3 separate regions of the Homo sapiens genome follow, and regions 1 and 2 are each linked to region 3. The links are contacts of gene promoters, found by promoter capture Hi-C in human tissues and cell types (Jung and others, 2019). All regions are on one chromosome and are shown on one strand. Each heading gives the region's core, a stretch centred on a gene start or on the middle of the fragment in contact. The rest is flanking DNA. Distances are from core to core; before and after follow the strand shown.

Region 1 (3,225 bases), core at 216-2,715, 150 kb after region 3:
AATTTAATTCAATTGTGATGCTAACTACCTGGAATTAGGATCAGCTCCCACAATTTAAGGGCTCAGTCACACCACGGACTCCACTGTTTAGGGTTTTTATGCAATGTCCGTTATGTAGGCATGACTGAGTAGATCATTGATCATTGATAATTAACTCAATTTCCAGCCCCTCTTATCTCCCCAAAGGCTGGGGGATGGGGCTGAAAGTTTCAACCTTCTAATCAATGGTTGATTCCTGTAGCAACAAGCTCTCATGCTGAAGCTATCTGGAAGTCCATCAAAAGTCATCTTATTAGTAGAAACTCAGGTATGGTTGAAAGAGGCTTATTATGAATAACAAAAGATGGTCCTCTGACCCCTATCTCTCAGGAACTTCCAAGGGTTTTAGAAGCTCTGTGTCCAGAATTGGGCATAAAGACCAAATATTATAACAAAATACAAGGGTTTTAGAAGCTTTGTGCCAGGAACTATGGATGAAGCCCAACTATATGTTTCTTATTATATCACAATATCAAGAGGTCCAGGTCAGTGGGCCCACTTATTTGGGTGGAAGGGAGGTAGTGAAAGTTTTAATGATCACTTAGGGGACGGTGACCTAGCCCAAGCCAACGAGAATGATTCCTTGAGTTTTGCTTGAATTATTGGGGAAGAAATTTCTTCCCACTAAAAATTTTAAATTCGTTAAATATAAGCTTATAGATGTTATTGCCCATCTTCGTTACCACTGAGATGAATATAATTGAGAAAGAAGCCAGCAAAGTGCAAAACAAAACCAAGAAGTAGAGAGGAAAAATTAGTATTCCTGAAGACAATGATTAAACTACTGGGTCAAACCATACTGCCCCTAGTTTATTCCAGAAATTTACAGGTATATGAGCCAGTGTGTTTCCTTATTCACTTAAACCAGGTAGATTTGGACTTTCCTTACTTGAAACAGAGAGCTTTCACTCAGAGGCACAAGGTTTTTATCTTTGTCATTTCCTCTTGGGTGAGGATATTGTGGGCTGTTTTCAGTAGGACTGCTCCTCCCTGCCCAAGTCATGGAGCAGAGCAGAGTCTAAAATGTGACAGACTCTCAGGGAATGATAGTGACTTTTACGCCCATCTAAATTTGTTGACAGGATATATTTGTGGGGCCACAAGAACTATGAAACATGAATGTGGAACTCAAGCAAAATATCCAGATTAAGATGTAAGTTTTGGAAGCATTGTCATCATAGGAAGTTAAGTTTAGGCATTGTATGAGATATACAGTAAGAAGAAATGCTTGGGCTTGGACATAGACTATAGGAAGCTAATACTTAACAGGGAGCTAGAAGAAAAGAGTTAATGAAAATGAAAGAGACTGATCTGAGAAGTAAGAGAAAACCCAGGAGTGAACAATGAAGGAAAAAAAAAGAAGAATGGTTTGTGTGATCAAAAGTAGAGGAGAAATGACATGAGGCTCTTGGATTTAGCATTTAAATATTGAATTTGGCAACTTGAGTTAACTAAAGACCTTTAAGAGAGGAGTTTTGTTAGAGGAAAAAGATGAAAAAAGATTTTAGAGGTTGAGGGGCACACGAGTGTATCAATTAAGTTTGGCTCAAATAAAAACAATAATTTGTGTATACATAAAATCTTAAAATATATTTCTTTTACTGAGGAATTTTTAATATTAACAATGATTGCATTTTTCTCTAATATCAACTTGAGATTCATTTCTGTGAATTTTATTTGACTGCACGACCTTAAAAATAATTAGTAAATAATTCCTATTTATCTAAGGAATTCCTAAGCTTATCAGAAGTCATAAAATCAGAAAACAACTGAACTTCCATACACTTCTTACACATATTCTTGCATAGATAAACATGTATATAAAAGATCAACTAATTAAAATCAATGTGGTATATGCACTGAACTATATTTTCTTAAAATGTTGTATATTTTTTGAAATTAAAGTTTAAAGCTTTAAATAACACAGTAGTCCCCCCTTAGGCACAGTTTTGTTTTCCACAGTTTCAGTTACCCAAGTTAACTGTGGTCTGAAAATATTAAATGGAAAATTCTAGAAGTAAACAATGCATACATCTTAAATTGTGCATCATTCTAAGCAGCATGATGAAATCTTGCAATGGCCCATGCTGTCCCTCCTGAGGCTTAACTTCCCTTTGTCTGGCATTGTCCATTATCACTTAGTAGCTATCTTGGTTATCAGATCAATTGTTGCAGTATTGTATCCCTGTGCTCAAGTAACTCTTACTTTACTTAATAATGGCCCTAAAGCACAAGAGTACTGTGCCTAATTTATAAATTAAACTTTATCATAAGTATGTATGTATAGGAAGAGACATAGTATATATAGGGTTTGGTACTATGTACAGTTTCAGGCATCCATAGAGGGTCTTGTAAAATAGCTCCTGTAAATTGGGGTGGGGTCTACTGTGTTATCTAATCTTACATAGTTTATGACTTATATGAAGATTTACATGCATTCAATGGTATATTAATACATAAAAGCAGCTAAAGTACAAGTAAAAATAGACTATTGGTAACTTAAAAGAAAACCCAGCCAAATAATAATGAAGCAAAACAAAAAGGTAGATGCTCATTTCACTCTTTTATGAAAGGTATCAGGAGAGCTGGTATGGAACTCCGTGGTTATCCGGTTCTCAGTCTCTTTTATCTTCCTACTCCACTGTGTTTCGCCATGGCTATCATTGTGAAGGTTTTTTCATTGTCCAAGATGGTTGCTGGAGCTCTGGCCACTGCGCCTGTATTCCAGACAGGAGGAAGGAGAAAGAACTAATGGCAAGAAGGTACATGTCAATATTGTAAACTTAGTTTATGACACTTTTTTAAAAAAGTCCACCTAACCTCTGCTTAGAACCCATTGAAGATCAACAGTGGTCAGAAAGACTGGGAAATAAAATATTTCAGGTGGGCATTGATCAGGGAGCAGTTAGGTACAAAGAACAGGAGTGTGGATACAAGATAGGCAGCTAGAACTCTCTATCTCAATGAGGACTGGTATAGGATGAATGAAAATGCACTATATTTTCTAAGAAGTTTGGCAGAGATTATGAGGAAGTATGTTGAATAGAACTGGAGAGAATGGAAATTTTTAGAATAAGAGAGACTTGATGTTTTTGTGGGTTGAAGTGAAGAATGTATAAGACAGAGTGCAAATAATTGATGGAGCAAGGCCCTGGGAGAGGTGAGAGACAGGCACGAAGAGCACAG
Region 2 (2,966 bases), core at 276-2,775, 160 kb before region 3:
ACCAGTTAAGATGTCGACAGTGTTGTCTGTTGTTTCTCCTGTTAATAATCAATTCTCTTCAGTTACAGCATGAACAAGATTAATTTTTCCTGACAAATTAATGTGGATGGTTTGCCACTGTGGGGTTCATCTTCAACATTGTCTCATCCCTTCTTAAAACCAGTTATCCATTTGTAAACTGCTGATTTCTTTAGGCCATTGTTCCCATAAAGTTTTTTTTTTGTTTTTTGAGACAGAGTCTCGCTGTCACCCAGGCTGGAGTGCCGTTGGCACAATCTTGGCTCACTGCAACCTCCGCCTCCCAGGTTCAAGCAATTCTCCTGTCTCAGCTTCCTGTGTAGGTGGGACTACAGGCACCCGCCACCATGCCAGGCAATTTTTTAGTAGAGATGGGGTTTCACCATATTGGTCAGGCTGGTCTTGAACTCCTGATCTCAGGTGATCCTCCCACCTTAGCCTCCCAAAGTGCTGGGATTACAGGTGTGAGCCACCGTGCATGGCCATAAACTTTTTTGTAAATCATCAATGATTTCACCATTCTTCCACCAAAGCTTCATCATAAATGTGATGTTTGTTCTTACTTCAGTTTCAACAGAATTCATGTTGCTCTGTAAGGGGCTCTTTTCAAACTGATGTCTTACCCTCTTAGTGCCTCAAACTAAATCCTGTTCAGACCTGTTATGACAAGTTAGTATGAGTTTGTTTTGGTGCAAAAAAGTTTGAAGTCTATGAATATTTTTTTCATAATATACCTTTTCCTTGAAGTTTTTGAAGTTATTACTAAACACATCAGCCAGCCTTTAAAAAATAATCTGTACAGTTCTTCTCTTTTGCTAATTAACATTTTGATTTCTGATATGCACAAATGACTGTTTTTATGTCATATCATGGTAATATGTTTTGCTTCACCACTAGAATATAAATGCAAGGATATTTCATGGTAATTAAGAGCACAACTTTTTGTGCCAGACTACTTGGTTCAAATCCTAGTTTTGCCACTTAATAGTTGTGTGGCTTTGATCAAGTTACTTAATCTCTTTGTGCCCCAGTTTCCTCAACTGTAAAATGAGAATAACAATAATACTTATACTGTAGAGTGATAAAAGGAATTATTAATTAATACAGGTCAGACATTTAGAACAGTATTTCAAAACTAGTAAGCTCTAAAAAAATCCACACTTTTATGAATATGAATATTTATTCCTACAATACTTTATTTACAAAGATATTGATCCAGCCAGCTAGGCAAAAATTCATCTTAATCAATATCTCTAAATTTCCTGATGGTTCCAATAAACTATATCTTGCCTTTTGTATTAGTCTGTTCTCCTGCTGCTAATAAAGACATACTCAAGATTGGGAAATTTATAAAAGAAAGAGGTTTAATGGATTCACAGTTCCATTGCAGGATCTTTCGGATATTGCTTTTCTGGCTGGAAACCTTTGTGGCTGGTGCACCTTTGCTTGAGTTCTTGTCCTGTGTCCAGGAAGAATAAGGTACTCAGACAGGGTGGAAGGTGAACAAGATGAAGAGGAGCTTTCTTGAGTATTATAACAGCTCAGAGGAGACCTGCGGTGGGTGGCTCCTCTCTGCCAGCAGGTCATCCCATTGTCTCTGCAGCTCTCAGTGAAGAGGGCAGCTCCTCTCTGCAGCTGGTTGTCCCATTGTCTCTCCATCGTCTGCCCTGCTCTGGCTGAGCCCAGGGTTTTTATGGGGCCTCAGAAGAGGCAGAAGTGTGGGCTGATTTGTCCAGGGACAGCCATGGGTGGGCTCAGGAAAAAGCACCATGAGTTCCTCCTCTGGTCTGCAGAACTGGCATCCCAGCCCCAGGCTTCAGGCCTATCCTAGCCTGAAGGTAGACTTCACTGGGGACCCACCTCCTTCCACCCAGGAGCATGTCTGTCTCCCCAGTCATCCATGGGGCCCAGGCTGCTGGCACCAAGGGGCAACTGCAGGCCAGTGCCCAGCCATCCTCAGTGCCCCCTCAGCTTCCCTTCCCATGTTCCTACATGCCCAAAGTCTGAAGAGGACTGAGGCATCAGGGGGCTGGCATGTCAGCACTGCCCTGAACGTGTGCACACCCATCTGGGCTGTGACAACATCCAGGCTTGGCCCCAACCCTACTTGGAGATGCCCAAGGAGTGCGGGTATCCCTGGGTTTGCCAATGGGCTGCAGCTGCTTGCAGGGAGGCGGGGTGGGGGGCAGCTGCAGCTATGCAGGGCTTGGCTCCTGCTTATTCTCAGCTTCCAAGAGCACAGGTATGCCCAATTGCAGCTGCAGCTTGGGCAGCTGCAGTTGCACTGGGGGAGCTCCCTCTCTGCCAACTTGGAAGAGGCAGGGCCCCTGCTTGTCCCCGGGTCCCACCAAGATCTATGGAGCATGGCACCTAGCCGCAACCCCTTTCAGCCTGGGATGGGGCGCCAGGTCCTCACTGGGCCTGAGCTGGTATCTGGGGCAGGGCAATGTTGACACAAGCTCCTCATGTGGCTCCAGTGCTCCGGGGCAGCATGGAGCTCCCCCTTGCCCTCATGTGATCCAGCCCCATTACGGTGGCCCCCAGGATGGCAGGCTGCGGAAAGGGGACTGTCTGCCTCCTATCATGCCCTCCCTGTAGATGCCGGTGTGATGGCAGTGGCCTCACCAGATGGCCCACTGCTGCCATCAGTTCCACATGGCTGGGGAGGACTCACGATCATGGTGGAAGGCAAAGGAGAAGAAAAGGCATGGCTTACCTGGTGGCAGGCAAGAAAAAGCGTGCAGGAGAACTCCCCTTTATAAAAGCATCAGATCTAGTGAGACTTATTCACTATCACAAGAACAGCATGGGAAAGACCCACCCCCATGATTCAATTACCTCTCACCAGTTCCCTCCCATGACACCTGGGAGCTATGGGAGCTACAATTCAAGATGAGATTTGGGTTGGAACACAACCAAACAATGTCACCTATACAAGTGATGAAAGT
Region 3 (3,295 bases), core at 193-2,692:
AGCAGCACCAACAAGAGCAAACAAAAGCCCACGCAGGAGATGTGTAAATATTTCATGAAGCAAAGCCTTAATCAACCCTCTCTCCCAAATCTTGCTGGTGTTGTAAACACTTCAGTTTCTTCTAGTCCCACCATGACCCAGATACCTTGCAAAAACAAAATAAAAACATAGTCCAATGGATCTTTAAACAAATGTGTTGTGAAAATATTTAGATGGAGCATACCCAAGTACCGCTTTAACCAAGAGGAAGAAGACACCTTACTCAAAGGTGGGTGCTTCTTGAGTGACTGCTCAGAGCTCTGTTTCTCCCCTCCCCCTCCAAGCCCTTGCCTTTTGCCCACCTCCTCGGCTGCTTTGTGGACATTCACATCGTCTTAACCTTGAACTGCCTACACCCCAAGCGGTGATTTCTCCCAATGGCCCTCCAGAAAGCCCTTGAAACCTGGTCTGGATTCGATGCCTTCCCATCACCCAAAATTCACTTCCCAGTGGCATATTAAGTACCTCTCCTTTTTTCCCTCTTTCACTGTCCATTATTGCGTCTGAAATGATGCCTACATCGTTTCCATCTGCCTGGAGAGCATGAAGATCTTCTGTGTGTGTTGGCTGACAGGCTCCTTCAGACCTCTTCTAAAGCCCATCTTGAAAGAACCGTTTATCACCTCTAGTCTCTACCCTGATTTAATGTGGTTCCAAAGTTCGCCTCTATTAGTGAACATGTCTCTACAACGATTTCCCTTTATCAACCCCTGCCCGCCCTTCCTCTTCTTTCTGCCTACCTCAAGAAAACCTATTTACATATGCATTTATGTATGTGTGTGTATATACACACACATACATACATCCATATGTAATATATATTTCTATGTTTTGACCTTAAAGGGGATAAGCATAGGAAAATGAGACAAATGTCACACACACACACACACACACACACACACCCCTCATATTCGGATATTCGCAGTGTGCAGACCCGATTGATTATAAATTTCCCTGCCCACGATCAGCAGGCGTCTTCTCCCATTTACCTTCAAAGCCAGAGCCAAAGAGAGCAATGACCTTGCAGAGAAATTCATCACCTGCGAGAAAGACTGCCCCTCCTAGAGCGCAGGATGGGACAGAGACAAGAGCAACAGGCAAAGGATCCCTGTGCAAAATGTGGGACCGAATCCCTTCCGCATCCCTACAGAGCACACCACCAGGCTCCGGTCCCCCGCGCTGGCCGCCAGGCGGAGGTGCGCAGGGGGCGTCTCCTACCTGCTCTGCCCGGCTCCGCGGCGCGGCGGGGCCACTGCCTGCGCTGTGGCGGGGGCTTCCCGTCGCATATCCCAAGCACCGTCTCTCGGCGCCACACCGATGGCTCCGGCGGGCCCGCGAGCTGAGGTCCTTCTCAGCCCGGTCCCGGAGCGAGCTCCGTGCGTTCAGGAACTGAAATTACTATGCCAAGAGCAGAGGCGGCGCGCAGCAGTCGGGCGTAGACCGAGGGGGCTGCCCCCACCGCGGGGCTGCAGACGCCGCCGCCGCCCCCGCCGGGCGCAGAGCCAGTTTGGAGGTGAGAGTTCACTTGCCCGACTGTTCATCCGTCAGGCCCGGGGTGTACCCATCTGTCCAGCGCTGCCCAGCCTGAGCATCCGAGAGAGGGGCGACAGCTTTGCAGGCGGCGGCGGCGGCAGCAGCAGCGGCGGCAGCAGGAGGCCGAGCTCCGCCCCCTCCAAACCCCCTCCCCCGCCTTCCCGGTCCTGGGGGAAAGTGTTGCAGCCCAGGCTGCTGAGCGCCGGGCCGGGAGCTAGGAGGGGTCTGGTGGGTTGTGGTTCTGCACCCCTGGAGACCAGAGACAGATGGAAAGTTAAGAAGGGATTAAGGAAGAGGGCTGGGGACCCAGAGCGATTTAGCAGGCATTCTGGCCCTTGCTCCCTCCCACAGGTCACCAGACTCCATGGCTGAGTCTAGACTCTAGCAGAAGGTTTCCAATAAAGCCACGTGCAGTGGAGATCTGAAAGCAAGATCATCCGATAAGTAATATGTTTTGCAAAATGTACAGTATCCTGCGTATTCGGAGAGGCACTGCTGACAGTGTTCCTGTCCCCATCCCCTTCCCGCTACCCCATGGGCTTGGAGGGCTTTGAGGGCTTTGGAAATCTTCCCTGTTGAGCAGCTCCAGAATCCTGAATGGATGTGTAGTATGGTTAGCAGCTGTAGATGGTGCAAAATGATACGATGAAAAGAGCTTCATTATTAACTGGGTATTTGTTGGAAGGCTCTGTGAAAAATGCCTTACATACAGCCTCAGCCTCTTTAATTCTTACTACAACCCATTGAGGTGCCTTACCATGTGGACGAGGAAACAGGCTTATATGATCTAAACACTTTGCTTGAGGTCACACAGTAGTAACCTGCTCAGCTGGGATTCAAACCAATCCAAAATATATCCTCTCATCTAGTACACAGGACTCACCTAGGGGGTCTTGTTAAAATGCTGATTGTGATCCAATAGGTCTGGGGTAGGGACTGAGGAAACGCTTTTTTAGTTTTTTGTTGTTGTTGTTTTTTGTTTTTTGCTTCGTCTCCTAGGCTGGAGTGCAGTGGCGCGCTCTCGGCTCACTGCAAGCTCCGCTTCCCGGGGTCAAGCGATTCTCCTGCCTCAGCCTCCCAAGTAGCTGGGATTACAGGCGCCCACCACCACGCCCGGCTAATTTTTGTATTTTTAGTAGAGACAGGGTTTCTCCACGTTGGCCAGGCTGGTCTGGAACACCTGACCTCAGGTGATCCGCCCGCCTCGGCCTCCCAAAGTGCTGGAATTACAGGCGTGAGCCATGCCTGGCCCAGGATAGGCATTTCTAACAAGCTCCCAGGTAATGCCCATGCTACTGGCCAAAAGATCAAACTTTGCGGCACTATTCACAATAGCAAAGACTTGCAACCAACCCAAATGTCCGTCAATGATAGACTGGATTAGGAAAATGTGGCACATGTATACCATGGAATACTATGCAGCCACAAAAAAGGATGAGTTCATGTCCTTTGTAGGGACATGGATGAAGCTGGAAACCATCATTCTTAGCAAACTATCACAAGAACAAAAAAACAAACACCGCATGTTCTCACTCATAGATGGGAATTGAACAATGAGAACACATGGACATAGGAAGGGGAACATCACACACCGGGGCCTGTTGTGGGGTTGGGGGAGGGGGGAGAGATAGTATTAGCAGATATACCTAATGTAAATGAGAAGTTAATGAGTGCAGCACACCAACATGGCACATGTATACATATGTAACAAACCTGCACGTTG

What was found. Contacts are between HindIII fragments. The study calls those that stand out against the background at their distance.
Region 1: a contact is called between a fragment that was not itself captured here and the fragment with the promoter of GPRIN3 in region 3, in 3 of the 25 tissues and cell types used here (H1 embryonic stem cells, hippocampus and liver).
Region 2: a fragment that was not itself captured here is called in contact with the fragment with the promoter of GPRIN3 in region 3 in 1 of the 25 tissues and cell types used here (liver).

What each region holds. Positions count from the first base shown.
Region 1 is chr4:89,457,462-89,460,686 of GRCh38, forward strand. LOC105377328 (a long non-coding RNA gene) reads right to left here. Exons shown (of 4, transcript XR_938981.2): 4 at 1-2,756. Among named protein-coding and RNA genes, the nearest start is that of GPRIN3, 150 kb to the left of the region's middle. The HindIII fragment of the contact is 4,473 bases long and covers 1-3,225 here.
Region 2 is chr4:89,146,420-89,149,385 of GRCh38, forward strand. No RefSeq gene overlaps it. Among named protein-coding and RNA genes, the nearest start is that of TIGD2, 36 kb to the left of the region's middle. The HindIII fragment of the contact is 5,835 bases long and covers 1-2,966 here.
Region 3 is chr4:89,306,358-89,309,652 of GRCh38, forward strand. GPRIN3 (GPRIN family member 3) reads right to left here and starts at 1,443. Exons shown (of 2, transcript NM_198281.3): 1 at 1,258-1,443. RefSeq lists silencers at 1,393-1,442, 1,453-1,522. The HindIII fragment of the contact is 18,564 bases long and covers 1-3,295 here.